2 separate regions of the Homo sapiens genome follow, and region 1 is linked to region 2. Evidence: promoter capture Hi-C in human tissues and cell types (Jung and others, 2019). All regions are on one chromosome and are shown on one strand. Each heading gives the region's core, a stretch centred on a gene start or on the middle of the fragment in contact. The rest is flanking DNA. Distances are from core to core; before and after follow the strand shown.

Region 1 (5,863 bases), core at 1,381-3,880, 610 kb before region 2:
AGTGCCAGGAACAATTGCTACAGGTTCCATGTGGAAGGTGACCTATTTTCCCAAGGGCTAGTTTTGATGACCCAGGCCCACAGCTGCATTAACTCAACAGCCACAAAAGTAGCCACCTCCACCTCTGGACAACCCACCTCCTCACTCAACTCTGGAGCTGCCGTCCCCTGCTGTGGGACTTCCTGCCATGCCTTTCATGTTTCCAGACCATGTATGTTCATCAATGGGTTCTTGTTTCCTGGTTGTGGTATTAGGTGGGGGCAAAAGTAAAGATCCTTTCACAATTCGTTCTTTGTAATTTGTGCAATTTCAACCTCCCCCTCATTCTTGGGTCACAAGTCTTAACAAGGACATTTGGAGGAGCCCCCAAAGCCTATCCCTGCCCCCTGCACAAGAGAGACCTGTCATGGGGATGGGATGCCAGCTTACCACACCCAGTCTGGGTTCGCCAGTCTCCAATTGGAATGCCAAGGGCTTGGCACACAAGAGCATAGGCCTGGATGGCTTGGCAGAGGAGCGTGCCATTGTCCCTCACACTGCACAGGTCATACACGCAGCTGTGCACAAAAGCAGTGGGGTCCACGACAGTGCCACACTCCCACAGAGGGCCGTCTGTCTTGTTGAGGAAGCCGCAGTAGTCAGAGCCAAAGTAGAGGGCTTCAGTGGCAGCGTCGCACTGGGTGCAGTTGTCGACGCAGCCGGAGTCGCACTTCCAGTCTGCGTGGTACACACGCCAGCTCTCTCCCAGATCCAGGACAGACATGGCCGGCCTGCCATCCGGGCGGAGGAAGTCATCCAGTGGGTTTTTATTATAGTTTCCACAGAGTCCACAGGTGGAGTTTATATAGGAGCCTGGGACGGAAATGGAGGCGTAGTGCTGGCCATCAAAAGTCACTAAGAGCCCAAAATCTGTTTCCACGGCAGTAGATATGCCACTCTGGTAGATTTTCACTGTCCCCAAGTCTAAGGTGACAGGCAAAGAAGTCACTAGGTCATTAACCTGCCAACAACAGTAATAGTGAAAGGCAGGTGAGCAGGTGCCCAGGCACTGGGTTCCAGCAGAGATCAGGAAAGGAAGGCAAAGCAACTCAACACTCCAGAGAGAATGGCCACCTAAACGGTCCAGGCTCCAGTGGGCTTCCCTCTGATTAAGGCAAAGGCCGGGGGGGAAATGGAGAGAGCTGCTTGTGGGCCAGCCCACGCACTGTGTATATGGGCTGTGATTGCTGTGGCATACAGAGTGCCACTACGGACTCCTCTGGGGACTGTGTGGTTGTCAACATTTCCTGGCTGGCTCTTGGCTAGCTTCATATCTTTTCTTCAAAGACCAGTCACCTCCCTTTTCCTCTGCATTCCTCTAAATATCCATTCTTTAAGTCTCAGCTTAAGTCATGCATTTTCCAGGACCCCCTTCCTGCCTTTAGTCCTCCTCACCCCACTCTCAGCTCGAGTGTGTGCTGGGTCCACTGCTGGACACCATTTAGCTTTGAGGCTGTCCTGATGTAGTATTCTCCAAGTGTTGTACTCTGTAACTTCCTTGTATCAGAACTACGTCATGTAACCATTCAACAACAACACAATTAAACACCTGCTAGGTACCAAGCACTATGTCAGGAACTGAGATGTAAAGGGTTAAAAAACATAATTGCCCCTGCCCCTCAAGGAGCCCTCAGTCTGCTGAAGAAGAGGGACATGCATCGATACTTACAGCATACTCTTTAACTGTGAGTCAATAGAGGATAAAATGGGAGAGCAGTAAATGAACATTGAATCCAGCATAGGGGAATCACATAAGTTTTTTAGAAGCAGTTAAGTCTAACCTGGGTCTTTAAAGATAAACAGAAGTGGCCAAAGGAAGAGTGGGGGAAGGGCAGAGAAATCCAGGACAAGAGAGCAGAGGCAGGAGGGTGAGGAACAGCTGGGTGGGGTTGGGGGGCAGACACTGAGGTGTTACTGGACTACAGAGGGAAGAGATGGCTGAAGATGAGGCTGGAGGTACAGGCAAGGTCCATTCATTCTACAAATACGCATTTATGCCTTTCTATGTACTTGGCACTGTTCTAAGAGTTGGGGATTAGCAGCAAGTGAAATGAACAGAAATCTCTGCCTCGTGGAACTTACATTTTAGCTGGGGAGACCAACAACAAGCAAAATAAATGAGTAAAACTCATGTCAGATGAGTGTTAATGCAGAAAAATAAAGAGCAGGAAATACTTTTCTAAAAAGTGCTAAGGAAAAGTGTTTCTAATTTTAAATAGGATGGTCAGGGAAGACTTCCTTGGGAAGGAGACATCTGAGATAAGGAAGAAATCCATGTGGTTATCTAGGGTGAGAGTGGCTCTTGAGGAGGGAACAGCAGCCCTAGGTTGGGAACATACCTGGGCACTCCCAGGATTACAAGGGGTGTAGGGGACGTGGCTGGAGAGAGACAGCAGGAGAGGGCAGCAATAGATGACGTCAGAGTGAGAAGAGCAGCCAGAACAAGCAGGGCCCGTCAGCCATTGTAAAGACTTTGGCTTTGACTCTGAGCAAGATGGAGAGCCCAGGGAGTGTTTAAAACAAAAAGTCCGCACGATCTGACTTCTGCTTTAAAAGAATTGCTCTGGCTTTTGTGTTGAGAACAGGTCTTGGAGGGCCTTTTAAGCCATGTTAAAAACAAAACAAAAGTTGGATTTCTATTCTGCAGGGAGAGCCCTTGAAGGCTTTTAAGCAAGGGAATGACATCACCAGATTTGTGTTTTAGAAAGCTCCTTCTGGCTAGCGTGAAGAAATTATTGAAGGAAGTTGAGATTAGAAACAGAGAAGCCAGACAGGCAACTGCTGCAGGAGTCCAGGGAGGTGATGAGGATGAAAGCCTAAACTAGCTGCAGACATGAGAGGGAGGGATGAGCTTATAGAACACACACAGCTGGACGTGGTGGTTTTGCAATGGGGCATGAGAAATGAGGGAATAATCAAGAGTGAGCCCCAGGCATCTAGTACGGGTGAGTAAGTGGCTTGATAAGCCTCAAAGAGAGAGAATTAATTTTCTTTTTCACACTTACTATGCCTAGCACCTATGGACATCCATGCTCATGGGCTGGAATGGAATGACTTGTCTTAGAACAGTCCTCGGTGGGCTTGACTATAAGTGCACATAAACTTTCCAGGGTGTCCTGGACCCACACTGATTTCTGGCACATGAGACTGTCTGGCACTCTTACCTGTCATCATTGTTGCTACTTTCTGAGTTGTCTAGGCGATGAGATGATGGTCTGAGCATCCCTTCCAAAATTTACCGTGGCAGGCGCCACATGCAGCTCTCTGTCTCTATAGATTAGTAGTTGGTCCTCACCAGAATCACCCTTAATGGTCCATTCACTACAATGTAGGCTTTTGCTAGAATGTACTTCAAAACTCTTCCAGCCTCTACCAATTACCCAAAGCTGCTACCATTTTTTTTTTTTTTTGAAACAGGGTCTTGCTCTGTCTCCCAGGCTGGAGTGCAGTGGCACAAACGTGGCTCACTGCAGCCTCAACCTCTCTGGCTCCAGTGATCCTCCCATCTCAGCCTCCTGAGTAGCTGGGACTACAGGTGCATGCCACAACACCTGGCTATTTTGGCTTTCTTTTTTTTTTTTTTTTTTTTTGGAGAGACAGGCTTTTGCCATGCTGCCCAGGGTGGTCTTGAACTCCTGAGCTCAAGCAATCTGCCCTCCTTGGCCTCCAAAAGTGCTGGGATTATAGGTGTGAGACGCCGTGCCCAGACTGCTACCACATTTTTAGGTATTTATTACAGCAGCACCCCACTCCTGGTACCAATCTTCTGTTTTAGTCTGTTTGGGCTGCTAGAGCAAAATACCATAAACTGGGTAGCTTATAAACAACTGAAATTTATTTCTCACAGTTCTGGAGGCTGGGAAGTATAAGGTCAGGGGGCTAGCAGATTCATTGTCTGGCGAGAGCCCACTTTCTGGTTCATAAATGGCACCTTCCAGCTGTGTTCACATATGGTGAAAGAAGAAATGAGCTCCCTCTGGCCTCCTTTCTAAGGGCACTAATCCCATTCATAAGGGCTCCACCCTCATGACATAATCACCTCCTCAAGGTCCCACCTCCTTATACCATCACCTTAGGAGTTAGAATTTCAACATATGAATTTTGAGGGGACACAAATATTTAGATCATAGCAATGGGGGAAGGGAATAAGAAAATAAGCTTGAGAAATAAACCATCCTGCAGAGAGCTAGAAGTAGAAAGAAAAACCAAGGAGTTGATTAATTTATTCTTGTCTCCTAGGTAGAGGGTTAGCCAACTCTTACTAGGTGACCTTGCCTATAATATGGCTTTTCCTACCCTAAGAAAAAAGGGAGAGAAGAGCCATATTATAGGGAAGGTCAGCTAGTAAGAGTGCTGAACACTTATCCATTGTTCTGTGCTGGTAAGTGGAAGGGGAAATCTTCCCCAATGTTGGTATAATTATGAATGTCAAATACGTCAACTGCTGAATGGGCTCCTCTGCTCTTACTTAAGCTCCTGCTAGCAAGGGACAAAGTCTTATTGTGTCCCAAAGCAGAAGCCATGGGGTAGGCTGGTTCTGGATATTTCTACAGTCCCCCCACCATCACAACCCTCAGGACGCCAGTTTCCCTGCCTCTGTTCTTGTCGCACTCAGGCTGACCTGACACCTGGGTGACTGTGGGTGTCAGTAATGTTCCAGTTGATACCTTTTTTTTTCTGGCATAAGTGATCATTGCACCCCCTTTCACTCTCCCTATAGAGTCATTGTGCTTGTGTCCCACAGTGCTTAGAGCAGGAGATCCCAGAGAACTCTTGTCCCCAAATGTAATTCCTTGCTTCATTCCTCTGACCCTGTCCTCAACCTATGGTTAGCAGACAGCTGATAAGCCTCGCCTGTTTGCTTGCTTTTCTTCTGCCTGCATTCTGGCCATTTCACTCTTCCACAGTACCTCTCCCAGGATGTGGGTAGGGGCAGGGGGAGGAGGAGAGAAGTGGAGTCACGGAGGCACAGGTCTTGGAACTGAAAGAAAGTTCCATGGGAATGGTCACAGGGAGCCAGCATGCACCGAGCACCTACTGTGTGCCAGGCTTTGTACTGGACATTGCCCTGTGGCTGTTCTATTTAATTCTCATAACAGCCTTAGGAGGTCCTTATCATTTTCTCCTTTTATAGATGAGGAAATTGAGGATGGGGGCTGGTGTGACTTGCAAGTGACAGAGCCTGACCCCTCCTAGTCGAGCTCCAAAGCCAGGTTCTCTCCACTTCTCCCTGCTGCCTGTATCCCAGTGCTGAGGAGAGGCCGCCAAGGCCAGCTACAGCCCAGGAGCTCTGCCTCCTAGAGGGCCCTGTCTCACAAAGAAAACGAAGCTCAAACAGGCCACTCAGCTGGCAGTGGTGGCATAGGAATTTGAACAGGTCCAGCCCTAGAGTCCAAGCTGCTCATCGCCATGGGCTAGTTGGCCTTGGCTCCCTGTTCACTGGAGCACCCTAAACTACTCGTGTTCACGCGGGGAAGAAAGATGAGAACTGGTATTAGCTAGAAGGAGGCGCTTTTTCTAGATGGATTTTTACTTATGCTGCCTTTTTTTGGTCCTACTGGTATATCTAATCCTAAACTGTTTATTTTGTTATTTGAGAACAGTTCAGTGGGGAAAATCCATGTACAGAACCCAGCTCCTAATCCCAGCATATGGAGACAGTGCTGGAGAAGGGGGGTCTGTGTTTTGGAAGAACAGATCTTAGTGGCCATTTCTGGTCTGGCACAGCATGGCTGAAGAAGTCAGCTGCCTCCCAGCATCTCAGGCTCCTTCCTGCTTCCCAGCCCTCTCCCTGCCTGTCCCCACATCACCCTGGGTCGGGGCT
Region 2 (5,682 bases), core at 555-3,054:
GAAAAATAATAAACCTGATTAATGATGAAGCCTGAGCTGCAGCTTCAGCAAATAAAGCCAGCATGATGACGCCCAGTGGAATTCCAGGGGCTGCCATCCCTGGTGGGACCGGAACACAGTGGACCTCGACAAGCCCCTCGCCCCTGACCACGCGAGCACAGACAGTCAGGGAGTCAGGCAGGACCGGATTTGTCTCTCAGATGCCCACTACCAACCCAGGCGGCCTCTCTCCCCGGAGATACCACGCCCGCAGTTTCCCGGTGCTCCTAGAAGTGTCACTACCAACCAGGTGACCCATAGGGAGTGAAAGTGAAGGTAGTTCTTTGTTCCTGGCAGGGCTCAGTCCTCCTGACCAGCCCTCAGACCTCTTGGCCTGGTCTTGACAGCTGCCCACTGCCTGGCAAAAGGGCCCAGCTGTGCTCAGAGCTCCCCTCCTCTTCCCAGACAACCCAGACCCTTGGGAGACATGCCCAGGAGAGCCACTGGAGGGAGGCAGGGAGGTGGCACCGCGTGGCATCACCAGACAACAGCACCAAGAGGAAGATGGCAGCATCAAGTACAGATGCCAAGAGCCACGCAGCCCAAGGTCCAGCCCGGGAGTGGCTCGGCCCGCATTGCCCCACCACTGCCAGGCAGACGGGCCAGAGGCGCCCGGGGCCCAGCCCCCTCGGCCGCCTCCTCCACCACCCCAAGGCCCTCAGCCAACTCTCCCCAGGCTCCAACTCCTCCCCTCACTTTGCTCAGCTCAAGGGAGCCAGGGAAAGAGACACAGGTGCTCTCAGTGCCTTGAACCCCCTGTCCCAGCTGTCGCCTGCACGCCCTCCACCCCAGCCAGGTCGGAGCGCACAGCTCTGCCAGTCCTCACTGAAGAGAATCTAAATCAGCTCCCCTCCCCCTCCGCCCCAGCCCCCTCCCCCATCACGCGCCCATTGCAGGTCTCTAGAGTTTCTCCCTCACTTCCCACTCGGATGAACTAGGGTGGGATGGGTGGGAGCCCCATTCTCCCCGGGAAAGAGGATCATTTCTGATAGGACGCTGGTTCCCCCAAGCAAGGCGGTGTGCAGGGTGGGGGGGTGTGGTGGTGGCCCGAGTCCAGTGCAGGGGCAGGGGGCAGTCGAGGCAGATGGCAGTGAGGAAAGGGGGAGGGGGCTTGGTGGGATGCCAGGCTGAGCCGGGATGGGGGGCTGCAGCCGGGGAACAGAGGCGCTGGGAGAAGCGGAGGGTGACGAGGTGTAGGGGAGACGCGCCAGGCTGGGAAGGGGCTGTCATCCCTGCAGGGGACAGAGGCAGGGCTGGGAGTTGCACGGGGAGGGGGAGGACCAGAGCGGGAGGACCGCGAGCCCGGGGAAGGGATGCGGAGGGAGGGAGACGGACCGGGGTGAAGACTGGAGGAACTACGGGAGCAGAGCGGTGGGGGGTTCGGCGGCGAATCTGGAGACGCAGGGACCGAAGTGCCAGGGACCGGGCTGGCGGGAGGCGGGAGCGGGGAGGAGGGCGCGGGGGCGGGGGCCGGGGCAGGGGTGCGGGGCCGCGGCCCCCGAGGGCAGGAGCGGCGGAGACGTCAGAAGTCGGGGTGCGGGAAGGGCCAGCGCGGAGGGGACTCGGGGGCGCGGGGGCAGCGCAGGGAGCGGGCCGGGGGCGCCGCGGGGGGCCGCTGCCCTTACCTGGTCGGCTCCGCACTCCGGGGGCTGAGCCGGGGGCCGGGCGCTGCCGGGCCGGCCGCGGGGCTGCTGTTGGCCGTTTTTCCTCTTCCGCAGCAGCCGTGGCGGCTCCAGCCCGATCCGCCCGCAGCTGAAGGCAGTCTGTGTCCGGCTGCGAGCGAGCCCGGCGCGGGGAGCGCGGGAGGAGCGCAGCGAGGCGCGGGGCGCCGCCCGGCGGGCAGCTGGGGAACTGCTGCGGCCCCGCGCACGGCCGGCCGGGGGGGCGCCCCTTCGGGGCCGGGCCGGAGCCCCGCGGGCAGCTGCACGCGCCCCCCAGCGCCCCTCGGAGCGTCGCCCGGGAGCCCAGGCGCGGGGGCGGCGGGGGCGGCGGGAACGGCGGGGGCTGCTGCGGGCAGGGCGGGCGCGGGTCCGCGCGGCCGGGGGCAAACTTGCGGCTGCCCGGGGGCCCGGGGCCGAGCGAGAGGCGCCCGGCTGGGGAGCGGCGCCCGGCAGAGGCTAGGGGCGCGCGGCCAAGCGGGCTCTGCGAGGTACGGACCTCAGGTGGGGAACCCGGCGCAGCCCGCACACTCCACCGCCCTGCGCAAAGGGGCAGCCCGCCCCGGCCCCGAGGAGTTATTAGCCCGGCGGCTTCAGCGAGCAAGGGGCGCCCCCTGGTGGCATTCGGGAAACAGCGCGGGGGACGAGCGTGCCCCGTTAGAAGAGACTGCGGCCTCAGTGGTGCGGAAGATGGAGAGGTGGAGGTTTCATGGGACGAGACAAGAGCACCTTGTTCAGGAGACTGAAGAGCAACAGCTTGCATGGAGTCATTCCAGAGCACTGTTGTATACATACCAACATCTTGGGAGGATCTCATGTTACGCATGAAGATCCTGAGGCTAGGAGAGGTGAAGGGACCAGGCCAAGAACACACGGGGAGCAAGTGGCAGGACCCAGGAGGCAACCCCGCTTTCTGACGCGCGGTTCATTTCAGTACACCGTGTGGTTCATCCTAATACAACAGAGTTGCCCTTAGGAGGAGGCTGGGTGAAGAGGGAGTCCTGGGGGAATAGGAGGGAGGGCAAGGGACACGTGACCCCCTCAAACCTATTAGCTCCCTCTTATCCAACCCGCAGAGTCTCTGTCTTGGGCAGACCACCAAACTGATCACACCGGCCCTCTCACCTTCAATGGCCTGTATCCCCACACCCAACCACCAGCACTCCCACAATCTCATTAAGCTCTCTGTGAAGGGTTTGTTCACAGACGTCCTTGGTCAGGTCTCACGCATGAGGCATACTATCGGGACTATAGACTGTTCTGGACGTTGCATTCCCCGGGGAGGGCTGGCTGGCTAGCCTGGGCGCGTACTGGGCCTCCTGCTTCAGGAGTCGTGCCTATCCCTCCCCCAGCTCCACACACTGGCTGGATGAATGCCATATGCGAACAGGGCTCCATTCCTCCAGCCAGACATTATTTAGCACCTACTGTTTGCCAAGACTATACCGCTTACACAAGTGTGATTCCCAATAATCAACTTTGCAAGGTAGGTGTTGAGGTGACACTAGTCCCATTTTACAGAGGATGTTAAACCTGTTAAGGTTTAAGAGCACCTGTAAGCCAGTGACACAAAACTAATTTCTAATTCCAACTCTATTCCCCCACTCTGGAACCCCCTCTCTTGTGCAAAATGGACGGAACAGCAGCATAAGCCTAGCAGAAAGTGTACGGGGCTGGGAGGAGGGAGAGGCATCCCTGTGATCCCAGCAAGCGATTTCACTTCCCTGGACTTCAGTTCCCATAACTCTAAAAGTGAGGGAAGCAGACTAGATGATCTCTCAAGCCGCGCAAACTCTGAAATGCCAAGCATGGATCCCTGGCCCCTTTCACGGGAAGAATGCAAGATCAGCGAGACCAGAGAGGCTTATTAAGTGTTTGGAAAGAAAAATACTATATAAGTGAAATGCTTCATCATATTCTTTTGCCTGGTGATCTCATCCTATTAACCAGGGAAGCGGGGAGGAGCTTTTGGCAGGTCAGAGAGATTGCTGATGGCTCTGGAGATAGTCTTGGCTGTGGCCTCCTGAGGGCCCTGGTTTCTCCCCTTCTTGCAAGAATGGTTCTGACTTTCTTTTCCTTTCTTAAGGCCTCTGCCCCTAGAAGCAGGGAGTCCCTACCAGTCACAGGGTGGACAACAATGTCAGCGAAGTCTGCCGGTACAGAAGTCTGCTGTTAGCCTCAGCCTGGTTGCCCCCACCCACTCTCCTGTCTCCCCTTGCTGCAAGATGTTGAGTTCTTTGGGATACTTACTACTTGCTCTCCACCTTTTTTACTACTGAAAAAATTCAATTCCAGGCAAGCTGACTTCTCAAGCTCAGCTCCAGGGGTGGGAAGGTCAGTCCAGATCTTTTTTGGAAGCCACAGGGGGAGAATGTCAGAGGGCCACGAGGCTGGCCCCGCTGATCTACTCTGAGGCTGCTGCCTTGAATGAAAAAACAGAAGGGTTGGGAAATGGGGCTCCCACCTCTAGAACCTCTCATCTGAAACATCCCTCACAGCCAGCTGCTATGCTGTGCAGGACGGATAGGATTCATTGTGCTTGGGCGCCATGGTGGTCGGAGCGCACAGGAAGGAGTTTGTTCTCTTGGATTTATCTTTAATTTCTTCCATCTATCTGCCTCTGGTATATCCACTAAGAAGAATATTTGATCTTAAATGTACCTGCCATGTCTTTTCCGAAGGTCCCTTTGAAGGTTCATCACACATTCATAATGATCCCTCTGCATAAATGGGGCCAGCTGAGGCACACGGTGAGCAGGTGACTTGTTGTCACCTTGCTGAGTGGCACATATCATATCATGTCACCATGTCTTAGAAACTATTGCAGCGGCCCTCTAGCTCATCTCCCTGCCTTTAAATTGGCTCCCTCCAATATGTCTACAAATGGCTGCCAGAGTGATGTCTCTAAAACAAGCTTCACCACTTTACACCCTTGCTGAAAACCCCTTCATGACCTCATATTGAGTCCAAAACTTTTTTTTTTTTAAGACGGAGTCACTCCTCTGTCACCAGGCTGGAGTGGAGTACAGTGGCGGAATCTCGGCTCACTGCAACCTCTGCCTCCCGGGTTCAAGCGATTCTCCTGCCTCAGCCTCCTGAGTATCTGGGACTACAGGCACCCGCCACCACGCCCGGCTAACCTTTGTATTTTTAGTAGAGATGGGGTTTCACCATGTTGGCCAGGCTGGTCTCCAACTCTTGACCTCGTGATCTGCCCGCCTCGGCCTCCCAAAGTGCTGGGATTACAGGCGTGCACCACCGCACCCAGCCTCGAGTCCAAAACTTCTTAGCACAGCATACAAGTTCCCTGCTTACTTCCCCACCTCACCCATCATCCATTTCTGTCCATCTCACCTTCAGTCAGTACCAAGCAGCACTGAGTTCTCTGCTCATCCCATTTCATACCTCTGTGCCTTTAACACACTGAATTCTGCCCAGAGTCCCCACCCTACCTCCCACATACACACTGATACACAAGTTCCTATTAACCGCTCAGAATTCTGTTTGGGAACCTCTCCTACTAGAAGTTTATCATACCTGGCTATCTAGTCCCTTCCCAACAGAAGTAATTACTCCCTTCTCGGGATCTCTCTTGTGCTTGTTAGAGTTTATGGTCACTTACTTGTTTCACGTCTGCTCTCACTAATAGACTGTGAGCTTGTTCTCCTGGATTTATATTTTAGCTTCTCCCTTCTTTGTATTTGCCTCAGGTATATCCGCAAATCAGATATTTGATCTTAAATTTACCTACCATTTCTTTTCCAAAGGTCCCTTGAAGGTTCATCTCAAGTTCATAATTAGACTATAGGCTTTTTAAAAAATCTCTGGCCGGGCACAGTGGCTCACACCTGTAATCTCAGCACTTTGGGAGGCCGAGGCGGGTGGATCACCTGAGGTCAGAGTTTGAGACCAGCCTGGCCAACATGGAGAAACCCTGTCTCTACTAAAAATACAAACTTATCCGGGCGTGGTGGCATGGGACCTG

The links. Contacts are between HindIII fragments. The study calls those that stand out against the background at their distance.
Region 1: a contact is called between a fragment that was not itself captured here and the fragment with the promoter of GRIK4 in region 2, in 2 of the 25 tissues and cell types used here (dorsolateral prefrontal cortex and lymphoblastoid cells).

The regions. Positions count from the first base shown.
Region 1 is chr11:121,120,439-121,126,301 of GRCh38, reverse strand. TBCEL-TECTA (TBCEL-TECTA readthrough) reads right to left here. Exons shown (of 30, transcript NM_001378761.1): 14 at 430-1,000. TECTA (tectorin alpha) reads right to left here. Exons shown (of 24, transcript NM_005422.4): 8 at 430-1,000. Among named protein-coding and RNA genes, the nearest start is that of TECTA, 22 kb to the right of the region's middle. The HindIII fragment of the contact is 9,664 bases long and covers 1-5,863 here.
Region 2 is chr11:120,507,870-120,513,551 of GRCh38, reverse strand. It overlaps GRIK4 (glutamate ionotropic receptor kainate type subunit 4), which reads right to left and starts at 1,804. Exons shown (of 21, transcript NM_014619.5): 1 at 1,665-1,804. RefSeq lists silencers at 1,734-1,933, 2,114-2,193. The HindIII fragment of the contact is 7,551 bases long and covers 1-5,305 here.